3 separate regions of the Homo sapiens genome follow, and all the other regions are linked to region 1. Evidence: promoter capture Hi-C in human tissues and cell types (Jung and others, 2019). All regions are on one chromosome and are shown on one strand. Each heading gives the region's core, a stretch centred on a gene start or on the middle of the fragment in contact. The rest is flanking DNA. Distances are from core to core; before and after follow the strand shown. Region 1 holds the start of SPATC1L (spermatogenesis and centriole associated 1 like). Region 2 overlaps COL6A2 (collagen type VI alpha 2 chain). Region 3 overlaps MCM3AP (minichromosome maintenance complex component 3 associated protein).

Region 1 (4,283 bases), core at 148-2,647:
AGATGGGGTGTCCTTCTCTTTTGATAACTTTGGTAGGGTTTGTCCATTTCCTGTGGTTGTGGAGCACGGGCATCAAGCTTTAACTACACCCCACAAATTCTAATGTCATGTTTTTATTCTCATTCAACTTGAAATATTCTCTGGTTTCCTTCGTGCTTTTGTCTTTTTCAAGACTTTTTTAAGAGGAGTTTTAGGTTCTTAGCAAAATTGAGAGGAAGATAGAGAGATTTCCCCACTCGCTGCCCCAACAAATGCACAGCCTCCCCTATTATCAACAAACTACCTGACAGCCACAATTGTCAGCAAAACGCACATGAGGGAAAAATATAAAATATAAGTAGCGTTGTATCTATTTAAGAAATTGATTTAGAAATTTAAAACTTTTCCAGAAGAAATCTAGTTCTAGATAGCTTCACAGATGAATTCTATCCGACGTTTAAGAAGGAACACCCAGAAAATGGCGCAGAATCTCTGCGGCTCATTTTAAAAGGCCAGTGTTCCAAAGCCAGACCGAGACATCACAAGAAAAGGAGATTCAGATCGACTTCCCCTGTGAGCATAAAAATACTTAAAATATTAATAAATTGAATCCAGCGCTATATTAAAAGGATAATGTGTCAAGACCAGAAAACTGTCAGAATGTTGATAGGTCCGTGGCTGGAGAGTACCTGACGTCAAGAGAAGGTTTCCTTGGAGCGGGAGGAAGACGGCATTTAAAATATGATGGGAGGAGCCAGGGCAGGAAAAGCCATTCAGGGCCCCGTCGGGCTCAGAGCGGGGGGCGCATCCGTGACTCATCCCTCGCTTCTCTCTCTGCCCTGCATCCTGGACGCCCTGCATGCCCTCGTCAGTGGGCTGTGGCTGGGCCCCCGTTGTCTTGATCTGAGGTGTGAGCCCTGTGGTGCAACACCAGGCTGGTTGGGTTGTGTCAGGAACGCTTGGGGTGTAGAAACCTCCTTTCTCCACAAAGCCTGACTCAAGACTTTCTCTCCTAGAAGCAACCTTCCCCTAATCTGGCCGCCCGGGCTGAATGAAGGTGGTGTTCTCCCAGGGGCATCTGCACCTGAGTGCCCTTGGTGGTCCTGAGTGCCCGTCACAGGGCTGGAGGTGTGGCCGGCCCACTGGGATGGTGGTGGTGGTGGGTGCCCATCACAGGGCTGGAGGTGTGGCCGGCCCACTGGGTTGGTGGTGGTGGGTGCCCGTCACAGGGCTGGAGGTGTGGCCGGCCCACTGGGTTGGTGGTGGTGGGTGCCCGTCACAGGGCTGGAGGTGTGGCCGGCCCACTGGGTTGGTGGTGGTGGGTGCCCGTCACAGGGCTGGAGGTGTGGCCGGCCCACTGGGTTGGTGGTGGTGGGTGCCCGTCACAGGGCTGGAGGTGTGGCCGGCCCACTGGGTTGTGCTTTCTGCCGTACGTCCCTTCCCATGAGGATGAGATGACCCATCTGTTGCATCCCGGCTGCTGATAAAACAAGACCCTCGGAGCCAAGAAACAACACTGAGGTGATTTACTTTCCCAAGTAATTGAAGCAGGGAGTCAGGGTGGGTTTCAAGTCGGTCGCACTGACTGAGGACAGACGCCTGCTCTAGCAGGGCCCCATGAGCCGCAGCCCTGTGTGACGGCCCGAGGGGCCGTGGCCATGGGTTGGGGGCGTCCTCAGTTACGTGCAGGCAGGAGCAGTGCAGTCAGGAACAATTGGTGTCTTAGACACGGGCGCTCGTGGTCTGAGGGGTGGACATGCACTGCTGGACCCTTCTCATCAGGGAGTGAGGTCAGTAGGTGGCCTCCAGCCCAGCCCTCAGGGCCACCCAGTGCTCCAAAGCATGTGGGGGCCATCGTGGGGCTGCCTCAGGCTGGTCTCCCCACCCTAGGCTGGTCTCCCCCGCAAGACTGGTCTCCTCCCCCAGGCTGGTCTCCCCCACAAGGCTGGTCTCCTCCCCCAGGCTGGTCTCCTCACCAGGCTGGTCTCCTCCCCCAGGCTGATCTCCCCGCCCAGGCTGGTCTCCCCCGCAGGCTGGTCTCCCCCGCAAGCTGGTCTCCTCCCCCAGGCTGGTCTCCTCACCAGGCTGGTCTCCTCCCCCAGGCTGATCTCCCCGCCCAGGCTGGTCTCCCCCGCAGGCTGGTCTCCCCCGCAAGCTGGTCTCCTCCCCCAGGCTGGTCTCCTCACCAGGCTGGTCTCCTCCCCCAGGCTGATCTCCCCGCCCAGGCTGGTCTCCCCCGCAGGCTGGTCTCCCCCACAAGGCTGGTCTCCTCCCCCAGGCTGGTCTCCTCACCAGGCTGGTCTCCTCCCCCAGGCTGATCTCCCCGCCCAGGCTGGTCTCCCCCGCAGGCTGGTCTCCCCCGCAAGCTGGTCTCCCCTGCAGGCTGGTCTCCTCCCCAGGCTGGTCTCCCCCGCAGACTGGTCTCCCCCACAAGCTGGTCTCCCCACCAGGCTGGTCTCCCCCACATGCTGGTCTCCTCCCACTGCCCTTGCCAGTCCCTCCCTCCTCAAGTGTGGGTGCCAAGGACGGACCCTGATGAACACCTGCACATCAGTTGCTGCCCTGGGTGCCAGGGTCCACAGGAAGCTGCACTGGGAACCCTGTGTCCTGGGCAGGTCCTATGGGAAGTGCAGCCCACATGTTACTCGGGTGAAGGCAGCGTCCCCACCCAGCTTGAGGACACCACACAGGGTGGACACCCGACCCTGGCTGGGCCGCTCAATGGGGAGTGGCTTGGACGCCCCTCTTGGAGTACAGTCGCTACATCCCGTAGCTGCCTAATGTCCTTGGCATTCTCGGGCCCTGGTCATAATGTGGGAGTGGCTGCCTGTGCACGCCACGGGCCTCCAGCTTCACTGCCTCAACGGGGCCATGAGCCATCGCGGGGGCAGGCAGGGTGCTGGGCACCTCATCACTAGGGCAGTGACATCACAAGGCGTGGAAGGCGGTGGTGGCTACGGAACTCCGTGCCTGGGCTGTTTCTGTGGTGCCTGCGGGCTCTGGGCTCCCACCTCCATGGGGCTGCAGGAGCCGTGAGGGACAAGGAGGGACGCACCCGCCATGGCTGAAGGCGGCGAGCTGATGAGCCGGCTCCTGAGCGAGAACGCGGACCTGAAGAAGCAGGTGCGCCTCCTGAAGGAGAATCAGATGCTGCGGCGGCTGCTCAGCCAGAGCTGCCAGGAGGGCGGCGGCCACGACCTGCTCCCACCCAGGGCGCATGCCTACCCTGAGGCCGGCTCCCCCGGGAGCGGAGGTGAGGCGCCGCCCAGCTCAGATGGCCTGGTAGATGAGGGGGTCGCGGGACGCCTGCTCCCCGGGAGTCGAGGGTGGCGGCCAGCTCCCTGATGCGGGAGGTCACGGGCACCTTTCACACCCTCAGGTCTGAGTAAAGCAAGACCAGGTGGTGGGTTCTGCTGTTGCCCTCAGGTGAGGCCCCTCCCCTCCCCTTCGGTCGCTGGCGAAGTGGGAGTGGTCAACCGCTGGCAGGTGGACTGGTCAGCTGCAGTCATGGAAGTGTCCCCATAGGGGTAGAGCAGGTGGCGCGCAGGCTTGTGGGCCTCCAGGGCCCCAGGCAGCTCTTCCAGGCTGGTCCTGGCTGGCAGTTTGCTCTGCTGCATGTGTCTCTTCTCCTGGGTCAGGGGCGAGGGGGGTGTCAGACCAGCCACACGAGTCCCATGAGTGCTGTGTCCCATCCACTCATGTCCCCGGCCAGAGCCAGGCCAGCCCCATGGTGGGAAGGTCCCACCCTGGGGAGGCCTCAGAGCCACCGGCCAGGGGAGCAGGTAGGGACAAGTGGGCGCCTGTCCCTGCGGGGCTGGGAGTGTGGAGCCATGATCCACTCACCACATAGCATTGACTCCGACCTTCTGTGGCTTTTTACTGAAAAAAGTATATATATAGGGTTTGGTCACTTTCTGCAAAGTAGTAGGCTTTATTCTAAAAGGTTTGGGAAAAACATTACCCGTTCCTGCATGTGATTTGGGGTGGGGCTGACAGATGTACCCTTGACTTTTTGTTGGGATGGTGGGCAGAGGACAGAGTCCCTGACCCAGCACTGCCTGGGATTCCCACGGCCAACCTCAGCTTCCCACCGGGCCGGGCCCGGAAAGGACGTGGTCAGCCTGCCTGGTCCTGGACGATGGAGCAGGCAGCCTCGCCAGTGCCCGTGAACACTGCTGTCTGCGAGCACGAGCCATGCCCGGGAGGCCAGCTCTGCCACTCACCAAGGGGCCGCTCCAGCACCTGTGCTGGGGGTGGGGGAGGTTGCTTCCTGAGTCCTTCTCAAACGCTGGCCACCACCCTCA
Region 2 (3,075 bases), core at 2-2,501, 68 kb after region 1:
AGGCCACGGGGATCCGCCAGGAGCTCCCAGGGGGAGTTCCTCACATGACTCCGACCCGGCAGAATGCTGGGCTGGGGCTGCTGGGCTGGGGCTGCTGGGCTGCCGGGAGAACCCACGCTCCCACTGCAGCAGCAACTACCCTCCCACCCGGTCAGGCACCCACACCCCCTGGGCCGAGGCTGAAGGAGGGGTGCAAACGGCCCTTACCCGGTTTCCAGGGTCTCCCTTGCAGCCAGGAGGTCCGATGCGCCCCAGCTTGCCCTGAAGGAGAAGGGGGCAGGAGGAGTCTCAGGGCGGGGTTCTGGGGTCCATGTGTGCCAACGACCAAGACACAGCCCACCCGGTTCTGCCCCGCAGGGCTGCAGCGCTCTCCTCCTGGCACACGGGTGCCCACATGAGGCCACGGCTGCTGTGGAGCTGTCTCCGGGGAGGCAGAGTGGCCGTTGTGCAGGAACAGGCCATCCCTGGCTGCCTCCCAGAGGCCCTGAGGGCAGAGCTCCCTGGGCACAGAGGATGTTCCCACGGGGAGCCATGGAAGGAGTGGGTGGGGCTGTCCTGTGGTTTGACCTGGGAGTGGGTAGGCTTGTTGCTGGCCTCTGTGTGCAGCTGTGGAGCTGCCCCAAGCCGGGATGTGCAGCCATGAATTAGATGCAGGCTGGTGAAGCCCTGGGTGGGGCAGTGGGATGTGGCAGGAGCTGAAGTTCGTGTGTGTGTGTGTGTGTGTGTGTGTGTGTATGCGTGTGTACACATGTGTAAGCTGACAGATCAGGCTGGATCTGGGGGCCCTGCAGAGGCTGGGATGCCTCTGTGAGACCAGTCCAGCTGTGAGCCCGAGGCTCCCTCTACCTTCTGTCCATCGGTCCCGTTCTTGCCAGCCAGGCCAGGGGCCCCCTGAAGAGAGAAGGAAGAGGGAACTCCATTAGCCCCGGTCCTTCTGCCCTGAGCAGCAGGAAGGAGGGGCTCTGCCTACCCAGCCAGCCTACCTTGCGACCGTCGGCTCCAAATTCACCCTGTGTAGGAGGAAAGCCGGCGCAGTGAGCTCGGTGCCTCAAAGCATCATGGGCACTGCTGCCTCTGGGGGGCAAAGCCCTTGGGCCAAACTCAAGGCCACAGGACCCCCCAGGAGCCCCCAAAGCCACCACTGAGAAAAGACCAGGCCGGTGCCCCAGGAGCAGTGACAGGCTGCGGCGGACGCCAAGAGGTGGGTCTGGGCCGAGGCTGGCGCAGGTCTGAGGTCTGTCAGGGCAAGAGCCTCACCTTCTCTCCTTTGAAGCCAGGAACGCCCTGGGGGCAGGAGGAGAGAGGGGCATTAGTGAGGAGCTCTGCAGAGACACAGGCAGGGAAGGGCCAGCCCTGCAGGCTGAGGGGAGTGCTCGGTGGGCCGCTGGCATCTAGTGTTCTCGACAAACAGTCTGCGGAGGAGGCTGAGCCCTGGGTCGGGCTGGAGGCTGGGTTTTGGGACGGCCATCAAGTTATCGAGGTGCTTCTGTTCCTTGGTAACTGGGGGGAGGGTCGTAGAGGCTGAGGCCGAGGCTGGGCTGGGGGGAGCCTGCCTGGCAGTGCTGGGGCCTCAGGGTGGAGCCAAGCCCCTGGCCGAGGTCACTCACCTTGGGTCCTGGGAATCCAATGGGGCCTTCGATGCCCGGGTCTCCCTGTGAAGGACAACGCAGCAGTGTGAGCCCAGCCCTGGGGCGCTGGGCTGCAGGCGGGGCGGGCGTGGGGCAAGGACACTCACCTGTCTTCCCTTCTGGCCAGGCTCTCCCGGCTCACCCATGTTGCCCTTGGCACCCTAAAAGCAGAGAAAAGAGTACATCGAGGCAGGGTAGGGTGGGCGGTAGGCAGCTGGGGACCCTGCCACAGCTCCTCTGAGAGGTGACACAGCAGAGGTTACTGATTCCCCTGCCCAAGTGGAGAAGTCTTGGTGTCAGCTGCTCCCCAAAGGGCCAGCCTCTGTCAGACAAGGGTTTGCTTTGACCCATTTCTCCCAGCTCTGAGGGAAGCTTCCCACAAAGCCACCTGCAAAATGGAGCCAGAAGAGACCCCTGGGGTGGGGGTGCCTGGCCCGTGGGGGTCCCTTCTGCACCCAGTAGCTGTGACTGTGGCCAACACTGGGCTCTGATTCTCCAGCGATGCCTGGGTCACCGTCACTACAAAGATTAATTCCTTTATCTAAGTAACTTTAGACAGATCAGGACTTCAGAACACCACATAAAGGTTACACTCTCTTGGAATTAAAATTTTAACCTATGATACAGAACTTTATTAAATAAATTCATCTATTTATTGATATGCTCCCAATTTAAGTGCAAAGAGGAGCAGAGGAAAGGGGAAGAATTAAGAGGTCAAAAGGAAGAAAAGGGAGGAAACTCAGGGCAGGGGATGAGGTGGGCAGAGGCTTCTGGAACATCACAGCTGTGCCCTGTCCTGGGCTCCGCTTGGCACCTTGCCACCCCTCAAACTCTAACCACAGTGATCCCTGTGGCAGCTTCCAGTGGCCCCCCCAACAGAACGGGTCACTGCACTGCTGTGTGCAGCCAAGGCTGCCCCAAGTGGCAAATTCATTCCCAGCTGTAGTAGGGTCGGCATTGCCACCAGGACTGGAGAAGCCAGGGAGGGAGATGGCAGGATTTGACCTGCAGCCTCGAGATGTCTCATCCTGGAGAAAGTACATCCAGATACCTACTGGTCTAGACAGCTGTTATCCAAATTTAGAAAAACACGAAGCTACGTAGCAGTAACATCCTCTATGATGGTCAATTCCTTATTTCATCTCCTTAGAAGCTACTTTCTCCTCCTATGCTTTTCTTTATAATTTTTAACAGATGTGAATTGTTGGAGTTTCACATACTCTGTTAGTGAGTTTTGGAAGGACTTTATTTGATGCACCTCTGTTAGGAAAATGCAGGGGATGTTCAAACCAGAAAATGCAGGGGACATTCAAACCAGGCTCCCTAAAACTGCTTATTTAGTAAGCCACAAAAGAGGTTCCTTCATATTAATGAGCAATCATATTATTAAGTGTAGTGCATCTCACATTTTACTTACTTGAATATGCTTGCTTACCAAAGTATTTTA
Region 3 (4,232 bases), core at 1-2,500, 75 kb before region 1:
GGGAAACCTGCTCCCAGGAGTTGAAGTAAGTGAAACGCTGGTGTCTTGCTGTGCCAGGAGAGTGAGCTTTGGCTCTGCCCTAGGCTGTGTCTTGCACCACTGAGGATGGGCTATTGGAAATGGATCTTGCCTGTCTAAGCTACTTTGATTTTGTGACCAAATGTATTTGATGCAGTCCTCTGTGCTCCCTTGGCTAATAGAATTTTATTATAAAAAATTCTCTTTTATATGAGGGCTGCCACCACATGATCATAGTCAGCCATCCTTATTAGCCACTGGCATTTATCATATATTTGAGACACTTCCAATTGATTGCACAAGTCAGATGTTGCTGATGAGAAGATTTTGTGGTTGTCTGCATGGTAATTTACAAATTCTACGCCAGGCACCTGTAGTCCCAGCAACTCAAGAGACTGAGGTGCAAAGATCACTTAAGCTCAGAAGTTCCAGGTAGTGTGCTATGACTGCACCTGTGGTGGCCACTGTACTCCAGCCTGGGCAACATAGTGAGACCCTGTCTCTAAAATAATTAAAAATTCTGACTATTTTATTAAGATAAAGGTTTATTTCTTAACTGTTACGAGGGCCCCTATGGACCTATAATTTGGCACCCTGTTCCACTTAATTCTTTTTACCCTGTCTTTCTAGGTGTCTGTAGTTTAAGTATTAAAGCTTCTTTTACAATGAAGATAGAATTACATTTTAATACTGAGGATGCAGACTCTTGCACTTTTTTTTTTTAAAGACGGAGTCTTGCTCTGTCGCCCACACTGGAGTGCAGTGGCGTGATCTGGGTTCACTGCAACCTCTGCCTCCTGGGTTCAAGCGATTCTCCTAGCTCAGCCTCCCAAGTAGCTGGAATTACAGGCATGCACCGCCATGCCCAGCTAATTTTTTTTTTTTTTTTTTTTTTGAAATGGAGTTTTACTCTGTTACCCAAGCTGGAGTGCAGTGGTGCCATCTCGGCTCACTGCAAGCTCCGCCTCCCGGGTTCACGCCATTCTCAGCCTCCTGAGTAGCTGGGACTACAGGAGCCTGCCAATATGCCTGGCTAATTTTTCATATTTTTAGTAGAGACGGGGTTTCACCGTGTTAGCCAGGATAGTCTCGATCTCCTGACCTCGTGATCCGCCTGCCCTGGCCTCCCAAAGTGCTGGGATTACAGGCATGAGCCACCGTGCCTGGCCGCCAGCTAATTTTTTGTATTTTTAGTAGAGACGGGGTTCTACCATGATGGCCAAGCTGGTTTCGAACTCCTGACCTGAAGTGATTTGCCTGCTTTGGCCTCGCAAAGAGCTAGGATTACAGGTGTAAGCCACTGTGCCTGGCCGACTCTTGCACTTTTCTTTTTTTTTTTTTTTTGAGACGGAGTCTCGCTCTGTCGTCCAGGCTGGAGTGCAGTGGCGCGATCTCTGCTCACTGCAAGCTCTGCCTCCCGGCTTCACGTCATTCTCCTGCTTCAGCCTCCCGAGTAGCTGGGACTACAGGCGCCCGCCACCACACCAGGCTAATTTTTTTGTATTTTTAGTAGAGACAGGGTTTCACCATGTTAGCCAGGATGGTCTGGATCTCTTGACCTCATGATCCACCCGCTTCGGCCTTCCAAAGTGCTGGGATTACAGGCGTGAGCCACCGCGCCTGACTGACTCTTGCACTTTTCAAGCAAGCCCTCAGTGTCTGTGGGCCCCAAGTGCAGTGTCTTCCATGCTGATTGCCCTGTTTCTAGGAATGCAGTAGAGACAGACCAGAGGGTCCGTGTGGCCCGTTGCTGTGAGGATGTCTGTGCCCACTTAGTGGACTTGTTTCTCGTGGAGGAAATCTTCCAGACTGCAAAGGAGACCCTCCAGGAGCTTCAGTGCTTCTGCAAGTATCTACAGCGGTGAGTCCTGTGTTCCTACAGGCAAAATCCACACACACGGGGAAGAGTCTTTTAACAAATTCAAAATATATGAGCTATTAGTTTCTGTATTCAGTGGTAAAAGGATGAGGGAAAATGTTATAGCAATGAATACCTAAAATAGACTAATTGGATTATACTGCATTTCAGAAATACTTGATTACACACACACACACACACACATACAATATAAGGGGAAAAGTCAGGAGTTAGATTGGGACGTGGTGGCTACTCTGTATGTCAACTGATATTTATAGGGTGCCTGCCATTTGCCCACTGCACTAGGTGCTGGGAGACAGCTATGAACAAGCCAGATTATGGCTGCATGCACCAATAAGGGTGAATTCTCAAAATATAAGTAGTGGAGAAAAAGCAATTAATAGGGAATATACAAATAGTGTATATTCAAACTAAATAGGTTGTTTCAGATTTATATATAGTGGTATAACCCTAAAGAAAAGAAGGAAAATAATGATCATAATCTCAGCATAGTGGTTACTTTTGGGAATGGGAGGTGGTGCCTCTCATGGCCACAACTTCTCAACTGGGTGTAAGTGCACAGGTGCTTGATGATTTATTAATCTTATAACTGGGCATATATGTGTTACGTATGTTGTATGATTCATTTCATAATAAAATTTAAAATCAGTAATAGTGTCCTTGGTAGTTGGAACAGTATAAAAGGGAGTATGGGGAGAAGTGAGTCTTCCTTCTACAACAGACCCCTGTCCATTGTGCGAGCAGCAGCTGCTTGCGAAACCATCCAGAGACTTTCTGTCCTTTCTTGTGGCTCTTGGCACAGATGGGCTCATGATCCCTGCTTTGCTCTGAGCCTTCCTTTGCTCCATCTGATATGAGGTGGAGGCTTGGCTGTAGCAGCATGCTGAGCTGTCCCCGTTGCCAGTGGTCTTGAGGTCAGTGCGATAATGTACCATAAATGACCTTCCTGGTCTTCTGTTGATGGACTTTCATGTGGCTCTTTTTTTTTTTTTTTTTGAGATGGAGTCTCACTCTGTCGCCCAGGCTGGAGTGCAGTGGCGCAATCACAGCTCACTGCAACCTCCACCTCCCAGGTTCAAGTGATTCTTCTGCCTCAGCCTCCTGAGTAGCTGGGACTACAGGCGTGCGCCACCATGCTCGGCTAATTTTGTTTTTTTTATTTTTAGTAGAGATGGGGTTTCACCATATTGGCCAGGCTGCTCTCGAACTCCTGACCTCGTGATCCGCCCGCCTCGGCCTCCCAAAGTGCTGGGATTACAGGCGTGAGCCACCGAGCCTGGACGTAGCTCTTTTTAGCTCTGGTAAAGACTGTTGCAGTGACTGTTGTTGTACAGACAGACATCTCACCCGTTTGCACACAGGCACGTGTGTGGAGATAAATTCCTATCAGTGGTGGCTGTGGGTCAAGGGATATATGTATCTTTTTTTTTTTTTTTTTTTTTTTTTGAGACGGAGCCTTGCTGGTACACACAGCCTGGAGTGCAGTGGTGTGATCTCGGCTCACTGCAACCTCCACCTCCTGGGTTCAAGGGATTCTCCTGCCTCAGCCTCCCAAGTAGCTGGGACCACAGTCGCCCACCACCATGCCCGGCTAATTTTTTGTATTTTAGTAGAGATTGGGTTTCACTGTGTTGCGCAGGCTGGTCTTGAACTCTTGAGCTCAGGCAGTCCGCCCGCCTTGGCCTCCCAAAGTGCTGGGATTACAGGCGTGAGCCACTGCACCCAGCTGGGTATATGTATCTTAAATCTGTATCCATATTGCCAAGTCAGCCTCCAAAGCTCATTCAGTATTAACTGTTAACGTTCGGTAGTTTCATTGCTCACCACACTCATTTGATGTCCTTCCTTCCCCATGCCTGAGTTCTGACTGCAATGTGTTTCTCAGTTTGAAGACCCTGAAAACACTCTGTGATGATACATTTTCATGTCCCCAGGTGGAGGGAAGCTGTCACAGCCCGCAAGAAACTGAGGCGCCAAATGCGGGCTTTCCCTGCTGCGCCCTGCTGCGTGGACGTGAGCGACCGGCTGAGGGCGCTGGCGCCCAGCGCAGAGTGCCCCATTGCTGAAGAGAACCTGGCCAGGGGCCTCCTGGACCTGGGCCATGCAGGGAGATTGGGCATCTCCTGCACCAGGTCAGCATCAGCTGTCGCCTGCCTCGTCAGGGCTCCCCTGCCCCCACTTGGTTTTACCAGGAGCGGAATTAATGTGTGTGTTTGGAGGGTGAAGATAGGTGAAGCCTGGAGGCGAAGATAGGTGAAGCCTGGAGGCGAGGACAGGCACAGGGTTGCATTTTGAAGGTTGTCTCCCACAGTTGTGGACATGTGACTTGTTCCAC

The links. Contacts are between HindIII fragments. The study calls those that stand out against the background at their distance.
Region 2: a contact is called between a fragment that was not itself captured here and the fragment with the promoter of SPATC1L in region 1, in 2 of the 25 tissues and cell types used here (H1 embryonic stem cells and IMR-90 fibroblasts).
Region 3: a contact is called between a fragment that was not itself captured here and the fragment with the promoter of SPATC1L in region 1, in 2 of the 25 tissues and cell types used here (IMR-90 fibroblasts and pancreas).

What each region holds. Positions count from the first base shown.
Region 1 is chr21:46,181,573-46,185,855 of GRCh38, reverse strand. SPATC1L (spermatogenesis and centriole associated 1 like) reads left to right here and starts at 1,397. Exons shown (of 5, transcript NM_001142854.2): 1 at 1,397-1,500; 2 at 2,082-3,232. The coding sequence starts at 3,040. LOC124905045 (a long non-coding RNA gene) reads right to left here and starts at 1,309. Exons shown (of 2, transcript XR_007067914.1): 1 at 669-1,309. RefSeq lists enhancers at 2,128-2,731, 2,732-3,335. The HindIII fragment of the contact is 12,071 bases long and covers 1-4,283 here.
Region 2 is chr21:46,114,586-46,117,660 of GRCh38, reverse strand. It overlaps COL6A2 (collagen type VI alpha 2 chain), which reads right to left. Exons shown (of 28, transcript NM_001849.4): 6 at 1,736-1,789; 7 at 1,608-1,652; 8 at 1,258-1,284; 9 at 984-1,010; 10 at 847-891; 11 at 208-261. Among named protein-coding and RNA genes, the nearest start is that of COL6A2, 18 kb to the right of the region's middle. The HindIII fragment of the contact is 7,903 bases long and covers 1-3,075 here.
Region 3 is chr21:46,256,586-46,260,817 of GRCh38, reverse strand. MCM3AP (minichromosome maintenance complex component 3 associated protein) reads left to right here. Exons shown (of 28, transcript NM_003906.5): 15 at 1-25; 16 at 1,727-1,879; 17 at 3,832-4,029. Among named protein-coding and RNA genes, the nearest start is that of MCM3AP, 27 kb to the left of the region's middle. The HindIII fragment of the contact is 8,306 bases long and covers 1-4,232 here.